2 separate regions of the Homo sapiens genome follow, and region 2 is linked to region 1. The links are contacts of gene promoters, found by promoter capture Hi-C in human tissues and cell types (Jung and others, 2019). All regions are on one chromosome and are shown on one strand. Each heading gives the region's core, a stretch centred on a gene start or on the middle of the fragment in contact. The rest is flanking DNA. Distances are from core to core; before and after follow the strand shown. Region 1 holds the start of TFDP1 (transcription factor Dp-1). Region 2 overlaps CUL4A (cullin 4A).

The links. The method cuts DNA at HindIII sites, captures the fragments that hold promoters and counts their contacts. A contact is called where the count stands out against the background at its distance.
Region 2: a contact is called between a fragment that was not itself captured here and the fragment with the promoter of TFDP1 in region 1, in 1 of the 25 tissues and cell types used here (lymphoblastoid cells).

What each region holds. Positions count from the first base shown.
Region 1 is chr13:113,581,530-113,587,468 of GRCh38, reverse strand. TFDP1 (transcription factor Dp-1) reads right to left here and starts at 2,716. Exons shown (of 12, transcript NM_007111.5): 1 at 2,581-2,716; 2 at 1,620-1,695. The coding sequence starts at 1,631. RefSeq lists enhancers at 344-944, 2,922-3,893, 3,894-4,867 and silencers at 1,884-2,253, 2,624-2,953. The HindIII fragment of the contact is 44,568 bases long and covers 1-5,939 here.
Region 2 is chr13:113,258,302-113,264,585 of GRCh38, reverse strand. CUL4A (cullin 4A) reads right to left here. Exons shown (of 20, transcript NM_001008895.4): 19 at 3,827-3,979; 20 at 1-1,099. The coding sequence ends at 1,004. MIR8075 (microRNA 8075) reads right to left here and starts at 1,666; the gene lies at 1,587-1,666. The HindIII fragment of the contact is 6,677 bases long and covers 924-6,284 here.

The DNA of each region.
Region 1 (5,939 bases), core at 1,467-3,966:
ATCAAATTCCTTGACTTGTTCACAACCTCACTTTCCATCCAGACCCAGCACTCCTGACCACTCCCAGGCTTTGAGCAGGGAAGGCCTCACCAGCTGCAGAATCCTACTCTCCTCCCAGCGCCAACCCCCAACTCAGATCACAACCCCTGAGTGCAAGGTGAGCCCCCAGCCCCTGTGCCTATGCAGTTCCTGACAAATGCTGCGTCTCAGGTGCCCACACTGGATGGAGCATTCAGGGTCCTGCAGAGCCGGACCACCTTTCCACACGCCCCCCACCCCCAGCCTCACACTACATGCTGCTCACAGACAGTGCCAGTGAAATCACGGGGGAATGAAAGAGGGCCCCGAAAACACCATCCATTATGTATCAAAGCGTGTTTGAGAACCATCTGAGGAAACCACACAGGAAACCACACAACACCAGAAGCGTGCTCTAACCGAGGCCCTGGGTCCAGCTCCTCACCATGAGGAGATGTAATGAACATGGCTTGCGCGCTGAGCACATGCCCACATCTGGCATTCTGAGTGCATGCCCGCACGAGGTCAGGGCATGGTACGGACAAGCACAGTGGAGAGGATAAAAGTAGTCTCGCAGCACAGCCAGATATGACTTCAAAAACTCACACTGGGTCCACCTGGGTGCTCACACACCCTCTCTAAAGGGGACCCCAGTGCTTGAAGGCAGGGATGCCGTGTGACATGCCTGGTCGCAGGTCAGGGAGGGCAGACACCCCAAAAGGCCTCGCAGGGACCACTGAAACCTCTGCGCCAACGGAGAGGGCTCCACACTCTGGACGCATTTTCGCTACAGATGTATCTCAGGCAGAGGCAGCATGTGCGGACTCTTTCCAACTCTGTGCGGTAAGTAGGTAAACACATCAACAGCACCTTTCACTCAGTTACAAAACGATGCACGGTGGGAAACACTAAAGAATCCAGCTGGTGTTTCAGTGACTGACATAACCAAGCACGGTAAAGAACCGCACACCAATAAAATAGACTAAATTTCTGGCTTTAAAAAATTTTCAAAATATTCTATAGTTTCATGACAACTGCAAAGCAGGCTAAGTAGCATTTTTTACCAGATTTCATAAATCAGGAAATCTCATCCTTCTGAGAAAAAAAGTGGCCAAAACAAGTCCTTAGCTCTTGGTCCACCCAAGTGGAATTAACTTCCTCTGTAGGAAGACAGGTGCCAGCAGGTGGCTACAGCCTGAGCCCTGAGCCTGGCCCCCGTCCAGCGTCTCATGTGGAAGCCCCCCAAGAAATGCAGGATTCGCTGCGGTGCTGCAACACCCTCCACCTCAATTTAATTAAGGCGTTTATTTAAAATTATCAATTAACACAGTCGGTAAAGATAAGGAAAAAGTCAGAAGGCACCACCCCATCACCACCCAACTGCAGTGTGGTATCCAAGGCCACAACTTGTGGGTGGTGACCGCAGCTTCAGAGATCAGATCCTTCCATCTTTCACCTTCATCCCGCTTCAGACGCTTTAAAAGTCTGAAAATAAACACTACTGTAGCTTATGTGTTGTCATTCTGAAATAAAGGCAGAGAACTACAAAGAATTTAGTGCGAGGCAAACATTCGTGTGCAGCATGAAGCAAACATACTTACATCTTTTGCCATGTTACCAGATCCGGGAAATCAATGCTACAAATGTTCACCTTCCCAGAGAAGAAAAATGATTTTTCTGGTAAAAAAAAAAAAAAAAGTAAGGAAAAACAAGAAATAAGTAAGAATGAAAAACGAAGTTTAAAAAATAACACATCTCAAAGGAAACGCGGACCTTCCTTCCCAAAGGCACCCTCCATCCTGAGAGCGGAGCTGGCCAAACCGACTCCCACACTCAGGATTTTCAGTCGCCTCGCCAGACGGAAATGCCCCCTGCGGAAAAGTGGCCCGCGGGCCCGCAGGGTCACCACCACTACCCCCAGGTCCCCGACGGCCCGCCCAGCGGCCGAGGGTGGGGCCGAGCCCCAGGAGCCAGGGCGCAGCGCCTCCCTCCCGCCGCTGCAGGGGGGTGCCCCACCACCCACCTGGGCACAGCCCCGGGGTCCCGGCGCAACGTGCAGGCTCGCGGCGTCCACCCCAGACCCCGGCGGCGCCCGCCCGGCTGACCGGTAACTCTGACAGGTGGGCTTCCGGGGTCCGCGCCGCGCGCCTGTCACTAGGCCTCGGGCCGCCTCCGCACGAGGCGCCTCCCGCGCGCGCCGGAACCGGGTCCCCGCGGGCCGCCGTGGGGCGGCCTCCCCTCCCCCGCCCTGCGCGCTCCGGCCGACCCTGGCCCCAGCCCCGGCCCCGGCCCCGGCCCCACCTCCAGCGTGGGGCGCGGACGCTGCTGTCGGCCGGGAGGGCCGGGCCCGGGACCCCCGCCCCGCGGTCACCTGGGGAGCCCCTACCAGCGCCGAGCGCGCGGGGTCCCCGAGGCACAGGAGCGCGCAGGGCGCGGGAGGGCGCGGGTCGGGGCCGCGCGGCGCCTACACGCGGCCGGGGCAAGGGATGGGGTGGCCGGGGGTCCCGCCCGCACCCCCGGCTCCCGCCCGCGGCTCCCGCGGCATCCCCTGCCCACCCGCACCTGGCTGCCCGGTCCGGCCGCGCGGGCGGGGACGCGGAGAGGGCGCGGTGCGGAGCGCGGGGCGGCGCGGAGAGGCGCGGGCTGGGGCCGGGCCGGGCGGTCCCGGCCGTGGCGGGGTCCCTGCCCTGGGCCGAGTGGCGCCGGGACGCGGGGCTCACCCTGGCCGAGCGTCGGGCCGGCGTGACGTGCGCGCGGCGCGGTGACGTGGGCGGCGGCGGGCCCGCTCCGCGCAGCGCGCCTGCGCGCCTTTTCGCGCCTTCGGCGCCCTCCTCCTCCTCTTCTGCTGCTCCTCGGTCTCCCGCTCCTCCCGCCAGTGCTGCGCGCCCTGGGAGAGCGGGGAGGGGCTGTGCGCGCGTGTCCGTGTGTGCGCGTGCGCGTGCGGAGATGTAGCTGGGGCCTGCGCCGGGACGGGCAGTGCGCGCGCGCGGCGTGCGCTCGGCGGCCAAGGGACTGTGTTTGTGCGCGCCTCTGACTGTGTGTGTCCGGAGAGAGAGGTGGCCGGCTGTGTGCAAGAGTGTGTGTGCACATGGGGGAGCGGGGCCGGCTATGTGCACGAGTGTGTGTGCATGTGGGGGAGCGGGAGCTGGTGTGTGCACGTGGGGGAGCGGGGCCGGCTGTGTGCAAGAGTGTGTGTGCACGTGGGGGAGCAGGGACTAGTGTGTGCACTAGTGCATGTGCACGTGAGGGAGCGGGGACTGGTGTGTGCACTAGTGTGTGTGCATGTGAGGGAGCGGGGACTGGTGTGTGCACTCGTGTGTGTGCATGTGAGGGAGCGGGGACTGGTGTGTGCACTCGTGTGTGTGCATGTGAGGGAGCGGGGACTGGTGTGTGCACTCGTGTGTGTGCATGTGAGGGAGCGGGGACTGGTGTGTGCACTCGTGTGTGTGCATGTGAGGGAGCGGGGACTGGTGTGTGCACTCGTGTGTGTGCATGTGAGGGAGCGGGGACTGGTGTGTGCACTAGTGTGTGCATGTGAGGGAGCGGGGACTGGTGTGTGCACTAGTGTGTGCATGTGAGGGAGCGGGGACTGGTGTGTGCACTAGTGTGTGCATGTGAGGGAGCGGGGACTGGTGTGTGCACTCGTGTGTGTGCATGTGAGGGAGCGGGGACTGGTGTGTGCACTAGTGTGTGTGCATGTGAGGGAGCGGGGACTGGTGTGTGCACTAGTGTGTGTGCATGTGAGGGAGCGGGGACTGGTGTGTGCACTAGTGTGTGTGCACATGGGGCAGCAGGTAGGGGGCCGGGTATGTCAGGATGTGTGTTTGTGTGCAGGGAGCAGAGAGTGCCGGCTGTGTGCGCGAGTGTGGGGGGGGGAGCAGGGACTAGTGTGTGCAGGAGTGTGTGTGCACTTGGAAGAGCGGGGCCGGGTGTGTGCTTGAGTGTGTGTGCTCAAAGAGGAGAGCCAGCTGTGTGTGCGCCTGTATGCACGGAGGAGAGGGGGCCGCTTGTGTGCACGAGTGTGTGTGCACATAAAGGGCCGACTGTGTGTGGGGCTGTGCATGTATGGAGAGCAGGTGTGTGCATAGACGTGTGTATGTGGACACACGGAGGAGAGCAGGTGTGTGTGCGTGCGTGGCACAGAGGCCTCTGCCTCTGCTGGACCCGGTGGCCTCCAAGCCCACGACGGGCCTCCGCCCAGATTCCCAACAATTCTGGGCGTCCTCGGTGCCCACCGGACGCAGCCTGGCCCGGGACTCGGGAGGGAAAGCAGGGACAGGAAAACTCCAGAAACAGTTTCATTGCATGGTGAGCCTGGTGGTCCCGGAGTCTTGGAGACTTAATCCACCCTGGAGGGCCCCGCCGCTAGGGCCAGGCCCGAGCACCCCAGCCAAGGGCGGGCTAGGCCAGAGAAGAGTCCGAAGTTCAGGGCCACAGCAGGCGGCAGAGGCTGGTGCGCGCCGAGGGTAAGGAACATCTACAGAGGACTTGAGGAGCTGACCAAAGGCCTCTCTGCCTGTGCGGTGTATTATTACATGACAGCCCACTTTGCACGTTTTATGCTGATTTTGGCCACTCCTGCCCCTCAGGCAACGCCGCACCCCCTAAAGCTCTGGTCACTTGGCTTAAACTGCTTACAAGTTAGCACCCGTTTCTTCTTTGAAGACTACCAGAAACGCTCACTTTCTGCGAGCTGGTTCACACAAATAGATACTTAGAGAACACTGATGTTCCTCAAATGGCCCTATCTTCCTAGGTCCGTTCCTTCTGTTTCACAGGGATTCTTTATGTGTTCCTAAATGTCAGTATTTGAGCCCTGATGGCAACAGTGACACCCTCCCAGCCTCTGGGGACTTCTCCCTGAGACCTGGGGGCTCCAGTTAGGAGGATACACACGTAGGGTCCAAAATTGGGGTCTTAAACGTCTTCCCCACAAATTCAGGATTCTGATAATTCAACAATGTTTATATGGCTGATAACTAATATTATTCAAAGAAGTTTCTGCACAAAAATCACTGTACTGAGATACTCCGAACGCGCACGAGGCACTGCGGCAATGAATGCTCACGGTGCTCTGTGTGGCTTAGGAAAAGGGCAAAAAGTTACTCCCTTTTTCCTCTCCATAGCCACATGTTCCACAGAAAGCCCTCGTTTCTCTTAACAAAAGTTAACAGAATTCCCTCTAAAATTTTGGTTGATGATCCAAATATTTTTAGCCACTGCCTTGCCTTGCAGTCTCTCGATTGGGTTGCTGAAATGCAAACTTCCTAAATAAGCCCATAACCCTCGGAATTTATCTAAGCCTTTGGCCTCCCTGTATCTCTGGAGCCTGGGCTGTTTAGGAGATAGGGTTCTTTGAATGATGCACTCGTTCAGGTGTTGACTTGCACCACATGCCAGAGGCTGGGTTCAGCCCTATGGTTGGGGCCAGATACTGTCTTGTTTTGTGCATGTGGGCACCAGATTCAGCTACCGTCCCAAATATTACATGGAAATGGCCTGTGCTGTGTTTTACTAGAAGTGAACGTGTCCTTCCCAGGAAAAGTCTTCATCTCGCAAAAGCTGTGTGTGTGTCTGCTCCAGAGTCTCCAGGCATGGTGCAAACTCTCCCCACCAATTCCACACCCCCATTAAACTGTCCTCTCTTTCAGAGAGAGAGAATTTTCTAACCCTGTTTTAATTCTAAATCTGCTGATTACATATCCAGATTGTCTTTTGTTTCCCTCCTCGATGACATTGGTCTTTTCTCCAACCATCTCCTATTTTCTGCCTTCTTCCATCACTATGGCAAGAGGCCTTCAGTGGGAGGACAAGCAGGAGGCAGGGACTCATGGAATTTATGGGGAAAGTTAAAAAATAATATTCCTGGATATGCGTAAATGGCATTTTCTTGATCTTTAGTAAAATGTCAATAAAGGCAT
Region 2 (6,284 bases), core at 3,013-5,512, 320 kb after region 1:
CACTGTTCAACCTCATGTATATATACACAACACAAAACCAGGTACCAACAAAATCCTTTTAATCTTTCCACAAAATAACCTCTGCTTCACAACATCAAGACTTTAAGTCTCCATAAACTTTTTACAGTTTACAGCAGAGAACAAGGATCGTCCCTGCGCATGACTGTAAAAACCAAACCAAACTTTATTATTGCAATCACACAAATACTGCAATTAAAAAAAATCAAAGAGCAGTTACCCCAATGCAAAAAAACAGGGACTGCCAGACTCAATCTTAGAATGGAAACACAAACACACTAGCCCCAAACCCTAAAACAGAGATTCACAAGGAACTCAGCTGACGAACAGACGCAGCAGGGCGGACACCATGGCCTTGGCACCTCAGGGAGCTCACTTAGAAACCTGACTTACGAAAAATCAGCCATCAAAGTTTACAACTTTTGGAAATACATGAAACAGAGAGGGGCCAGTGGCTAGGGTGCGTCATCCATTCGCCAGCTTTGAACCCTGGCTCTTTCTAATGTTCACCCATGAAGGGCCCTTGTTTTCACTCTAAATGCTGATCATCTGAGCGAGCTGTCTTCAGGGATACCTAAGGAATCTTCAGAGCTAAAAAATGCAGCATCTAGGGTCTTCTTCATTGTGCACTCATGATCACACACGAGAACAAACCAAACTTGCAGCTTTTTGACACAAGAACAAGACCTTTTAAAGGAACTTCTCTTTAGTAACATCTTCTTGTCCAATCTCAAAGTTATTTTGCACAGAGTAACAGAAACAATTTAAATGCCTAAAAGAACTAGAGGAAAAACTGGAGGGAAAAAGATACATCTGCAGGTTGAAGTCTTGAGCCTTGTGAAAGATGACCCAGGAGCCACCTCCCTTCCTTCGCCTTCCAATGTCCACAGCTGGATCAATCAGAGTCCCAGAAATGGCACAGGTGTGCTTCCTGCTCTGAGGGTACATTCTAGTGTTTCATGAAGGGGAACCGTCTGCAGATGCGTCAGGCCACGTAGTGGTACTGATTCGGATTGTCTTTGTCTCTCTCCATATAGTCTCTGTCTATCAGAGATTCAATTCTCTTTTTCAAATCTCCAGGCTAAAAAAGAAGAATAAAACCCCCCTAATTACAATGGCATTAAATTTACAAACATTTACATACAAGGGGTATATGCATGAAGTATGTAACTATACTTATAGAAATATATATACAAATAGATATTTATATGAAAATCATTTATAATTATACACATATTTATGAAATGAACAAAACTTTCTATTTTAAAGACAAAGTTAACGTTATCTCTTGATAAAAAAAGCGTCCATGTGAGTTTATGGTCAGAGTGTGGTTTCCTGAGGGAAACGTGAAACTTGTGAAATGTACATACATCATCTGCCATCAGTAAGGGCACGTATAAGCGAGGCAGATCCGACATCTGCCATCAGCAAGGGCACGTATAAGTGAGGCAGACCCGACATCTGCCATCAGCAAGGGCACGTATAAGCGAGGCAGACCCGACATCTGCCATCAGCAAGGGCACGTATAAGCGAGGCAGACCCGACATCTGCCATCAGCAAGGGCACGTATAAGCGAGGCAGACCCGACATCTGCCATCAGCAAGGGCACGTATAAGCGAGGCAGATCCGACATCTGCCATCAGCAAGGGCACGTATAAGCGAGGCAGATCCGACATCTGCCATCAGCAAGGGCACGTATAAGCGAGGCAGATCCGACATCTGCCATCAGCAAGGGCACGTATAAGCGAGGCAGATCCGACATCTGCCATCAGCAAGGGCACGTATAAGTGAGGCAGACCCGATCACGTGACACATTTTTATTTGAAAGGAAAATCTCAACATGTCTTACTGGGGCAACTTTTATCCTTTGAAAGGATGCTTCTGCCTAAGTAGTGTATTTTATTTTGTTTATTTATTTTGAGATGGGGTCTCATTTTGTCGCCCAGGCTGGAGTGCAGTGGTGCGATCTCAGCTCACTGCAGCCTCCACCTCCTGGACTCAAGCAATCTTCGTGCTTCAGCCTCCCCAGTAGCTGGGATCACAGGCTGCACACCACCATGCCTGGCTAATTTTATTTTTTGTAGAGAAGGGGTCTCACTATGTTGCCCAGGCTGGTCTCAAATTCCTGGGCTCAATCAATCCGCCTGCCTCAGCTCCCAAAGTGCTGGGATCGCTGGCGTGAGGCAGTGCGCCTGGCCTGTAGTTTTATTCTCGTGTATTTACATAGTTATTGCATGCCATGTCCACGTAAGTGAAACTACAATCCCCAGTGTTCCTGCACTAAGAGTAGGTGACTGAGGAGACGAATCCACAGCCACAGCCTGTCTCTGCCCAGAGGGAACAGCCACTCCAGCTCTGCTGTATTAGGAAGAAAATCTGTGTGAGCACTTACGTGCAAGGCTCTCCCTATACAAGGGAGACCCTCTATTTTCCAAACAAACTTCACCTTCTATTCAGTGATAAGCCACACATTTTACAAGATGTGGCTGAGGCTGGGCGCGGTGGCTCACGCCTGTAATCCCAGCACTTTGGGAGGTTGAGGCAGGCGGATCACGAGGTCAGGAGTTTGAGACCAGCCTGACCACACGGTAAAACCCTGTCTCTACTAAAAATACAAAAATTAGCTGGGTGTGGTGGCGCGTGCCTGTAAGCCCAGCTACTCAGGAGGCTGAGGCAGGAGAACTGCTTGAACCCGAGAGGCAGAGGTTACAGTGAGCCGAGATCGTGCCACTGCACTCCATCCTGGGGGACAGCAAGACTCCATCTCAAAGAAAAAAAAAACCCAACTACCCGAGAGCAGAGCGGGCGCCCTGGTCTGCCACACTCTACCCCTGAGAGCAGAGTGGGCGCCCTGGTCTGCCACTCTCTACCCGAGAGCAGAGCAGGTGCCCTGGTCTGCCACACTCCACTCTTGCTCACCTCTGCTTCGCGCTGGGCCTGATTGTTTGCAGTGGCAACAGGAGACTTGCTCCAGCTGGTGGGAGGAAGGGGCAGTGAACCTGATGGTGCTTTTGGAGCTTCCCAGGGCCCTGAGGACGGCACCTCACCTCTGCAGGGAAGGGGGCAAATGTGGGCTGATGGACAGTGGCACTTCCACCAGACTCTTAAGTGTTCGACTATTTAGTGCATCTCAACTTTATTCCCTTGATGGAATGGGAGGCTCAAACTGCACAACATGGAATCTGGGGACTTTCCCTCCAAAGCACGTGTGGCCGGTCCTGTCCCTGAGAGGCCAGGCGTCATCAGAGTTCAGTATTTCCTGGGTTGATAAATACATGTAAAAAACGTTTCATAATACTTTCCCGGCTTATCCTGCATCCCACACGTGGCAGGACAGTAAATCTCAGTTCTGAAAACAACGCGGGTTGACAGGCCTGGGCTGACTTTCATAAGCAACAGCAACAGTAGACTATTACCGTGGTGGAAAACGCGGTGTAGGCTGTAAACGCTGAGTAAGTTAGTTATTGTTATCATTTCCTTAAAATCTTGTGATGTAACCTTGACCGCTACTACTATGAGAAAAGTGTTCAGCTTTCCATGTCCCATCTACCTCTTCCCTTCCTGAAAATATGAACAAGCGCGCACCATCCCTGGGAAGGAGAGTTTTAGGGCTCTATCATTTCTGCAGTGGCAATGAGCAACACCTGGAATAAAGAGCTTCACATTTGCCAGTTTTTCTACATTCAGTGTATACACAAAGCACCATGAATAATGCAGGTCAAATGATATGACTGAACATAGAATTAAACATGCTTTGTCAATTGTTTAGCAAATACTACAAATTTAATTATGCTAATGTTACATTTACCTTTACTGGAAATTTCAGCTGATTATATAATTCAGAAACTAGAAGATTATGACCAAGAGTCTTTCTCATCTTCATTATTCTGACGATAGCAGCATCAATCTGATATTGTCTATCCTGAAACACTCTCTCAGTGGTGCTAACCTGTTCCTCAACCTGTATAAAAAAGAAAAAAAAAGTTAAGTGTAAAACTGTATTTTCTTTTTATTTTTTGCGATGGAGTCTCACTCAGTTGCCTGGGCTAGAGTGCAATGGTGTGATCTCGGCTCACTGCAACCTCCGCCTCCCAGGATCAAGCGATTCTCTTGCCTCAGCCTCCCGAGTAGCTGGGATCACAGGCACCTGCTGTCATGCCCGGCTACTTTTTGTATTTTTGTACAGGCAGGGTTTCACTATGTTGGCCAGGCTGGTTTTGAACTCCTGACCTCAGATGATCCGCCCACCTTGGCCTCCCAAAGTGCTGGGATTACAGGTGTGAGCTACCACACCTGGCCTATATTTCAATATTAATGACCTGATGTTACCGAATTTGATGGGAAATGGTTTTTTTTTTTTTTTTGAGACGGAGTCTCACTCTGTCACCCAGGCTGGAGTGCAGTGGCGCGATCTCGGCTCACTACAAGCTCCGCCCCCCGGGTTCACGCCATTCTCCTGTCTCAGCCTCTCAAGTAGCTGGGACTACGGTGCCCCCCCACCATGCCCGGCTCATTTTTGTATTTTTAGTAGAGACAGGGTTTCACCATGTTAGCCAGGCTGGTCTCGATCTCCTGACCTCGTGATCCACCTGGCTCGGCCTCCCAAAGTGCTGGGATTACAGGCGTGAGCCACCGTGCCTGGCCGGAAATGTTCTTTTGATGCAAAGAAAGGTCAGACATTGGATGAATCCTACTTTATTATGCATGTTTACTTGTTGTAGTAAAAGGTACCTTCCCAGAATAGCAAAACTCCAAAACCAAAACTTAAAAAATATTTTTAAAAGTTATTTTCCTTATAAGAAAGCTGCAACAACTCTATGTGTGATGTAGATTAAAACTAGCAGCACAGTAAACAAAACATAATGACCATCAGGATATATTCCAGAAATGTTAAGTGTTGATCAACATTAGGAAATCTGTGAATATAAGTGAGAGCACTGTAGCAGTTGAAAGGTTAGATTACATGACCATCTTGATAGATGCTGAAAAGGCATGATAAAATTGATTTTTTGATTTAAAACAAACATTAGCATACAAGGATGAATAAAAAAGCATCTGAACATGATAAAACATGGTTATCAGAAACAAACAGCAAATACTAGAGACAACTTAACCTTAGTCCAACAGGAACCTGATGGGGATCTGCAGTTGAAATGAGGGCTGGGGGAAGGTCTGTGCATACATATGAGGCAAGTATGCTTCAGGATGGGAGAGACTCCAAGCTTTCATCACATTTTCAACAGGATCCATGACCCCCAAAAAGTTAACATCCTCTGAACTAGAGATAAAATTAGGAAGCTCAGCTGCACTGCTATTCCTTAAAAACATTACTTTAGAGGTTCTAACTATGCAATACAGGAACAGACTAAAGAGGTATATTGAAAAGGTGCAGACAAAACGATCATTATTTGTAGATGAGCTGGAAAATCCAAGAAAATCAACAGAAAAACTTTCAAAGCTAAAGAGTTTTGTAAAGTGGCTGGAAATAAAATAAATATACAAAGACAAATAGCATTAATACATACATTCTGATAAAAACCGTCAGAAATGTAAAGAAAAAAGGTCCCCTTTATAAGATATCAGCATTTCATTAGCCTGTCTTGCTTAAAACTCTAGTGGTTTTCCAAATGCTTCATGGATCTGAGCCATCTTCAGAGGGTCCAGCTGTGGCTCCCTGATCAGGCCTGTCTGGCTCAGCTTCCCCTTTTGGCAACGATGCTGCAGCCAGAGGCCTTCTTTCAGTTCCTGAGCAAAGCTAGTCACTTCTTCAGGAAAGCGTTGGCTGACGACAGTATTTAATTAGACTCTCCTGCACTTCTCTATCCTAACATTTTCCTCCACTCTTACAAGTTAGTCAATGTGTGTGATCCTCTGCTACCTCTCTGCTGGAAAAGACTGAACACTCCTAGAAACAAGGACTTATTCTTTATTGTTAATGGATGAATTCTCAGTGCTTCACAGAGGACCTGGGCCACCACAGATGCTCAATAAGTATTTGTTGAATGAATGAAAATTTATGACTAGCAAGAAATATGCAAGACTTACAGAAGAAAACTAGAAAGCTCTGAGAAAAAGATTTGTATGTATTTACATATATACACATATGTATGAATCACAAGATTTAATATGATAAAGATAAAAGCTCTGTAAATTAATGCAATATGGATTAAAAATGTCAATGTTCTTATTTGGGGGAGCAAAGGCGTGATACAATTATTGTCAAGTTCATTGGAAGAATAAAGTTATAGGAATAGCTACATTAATTA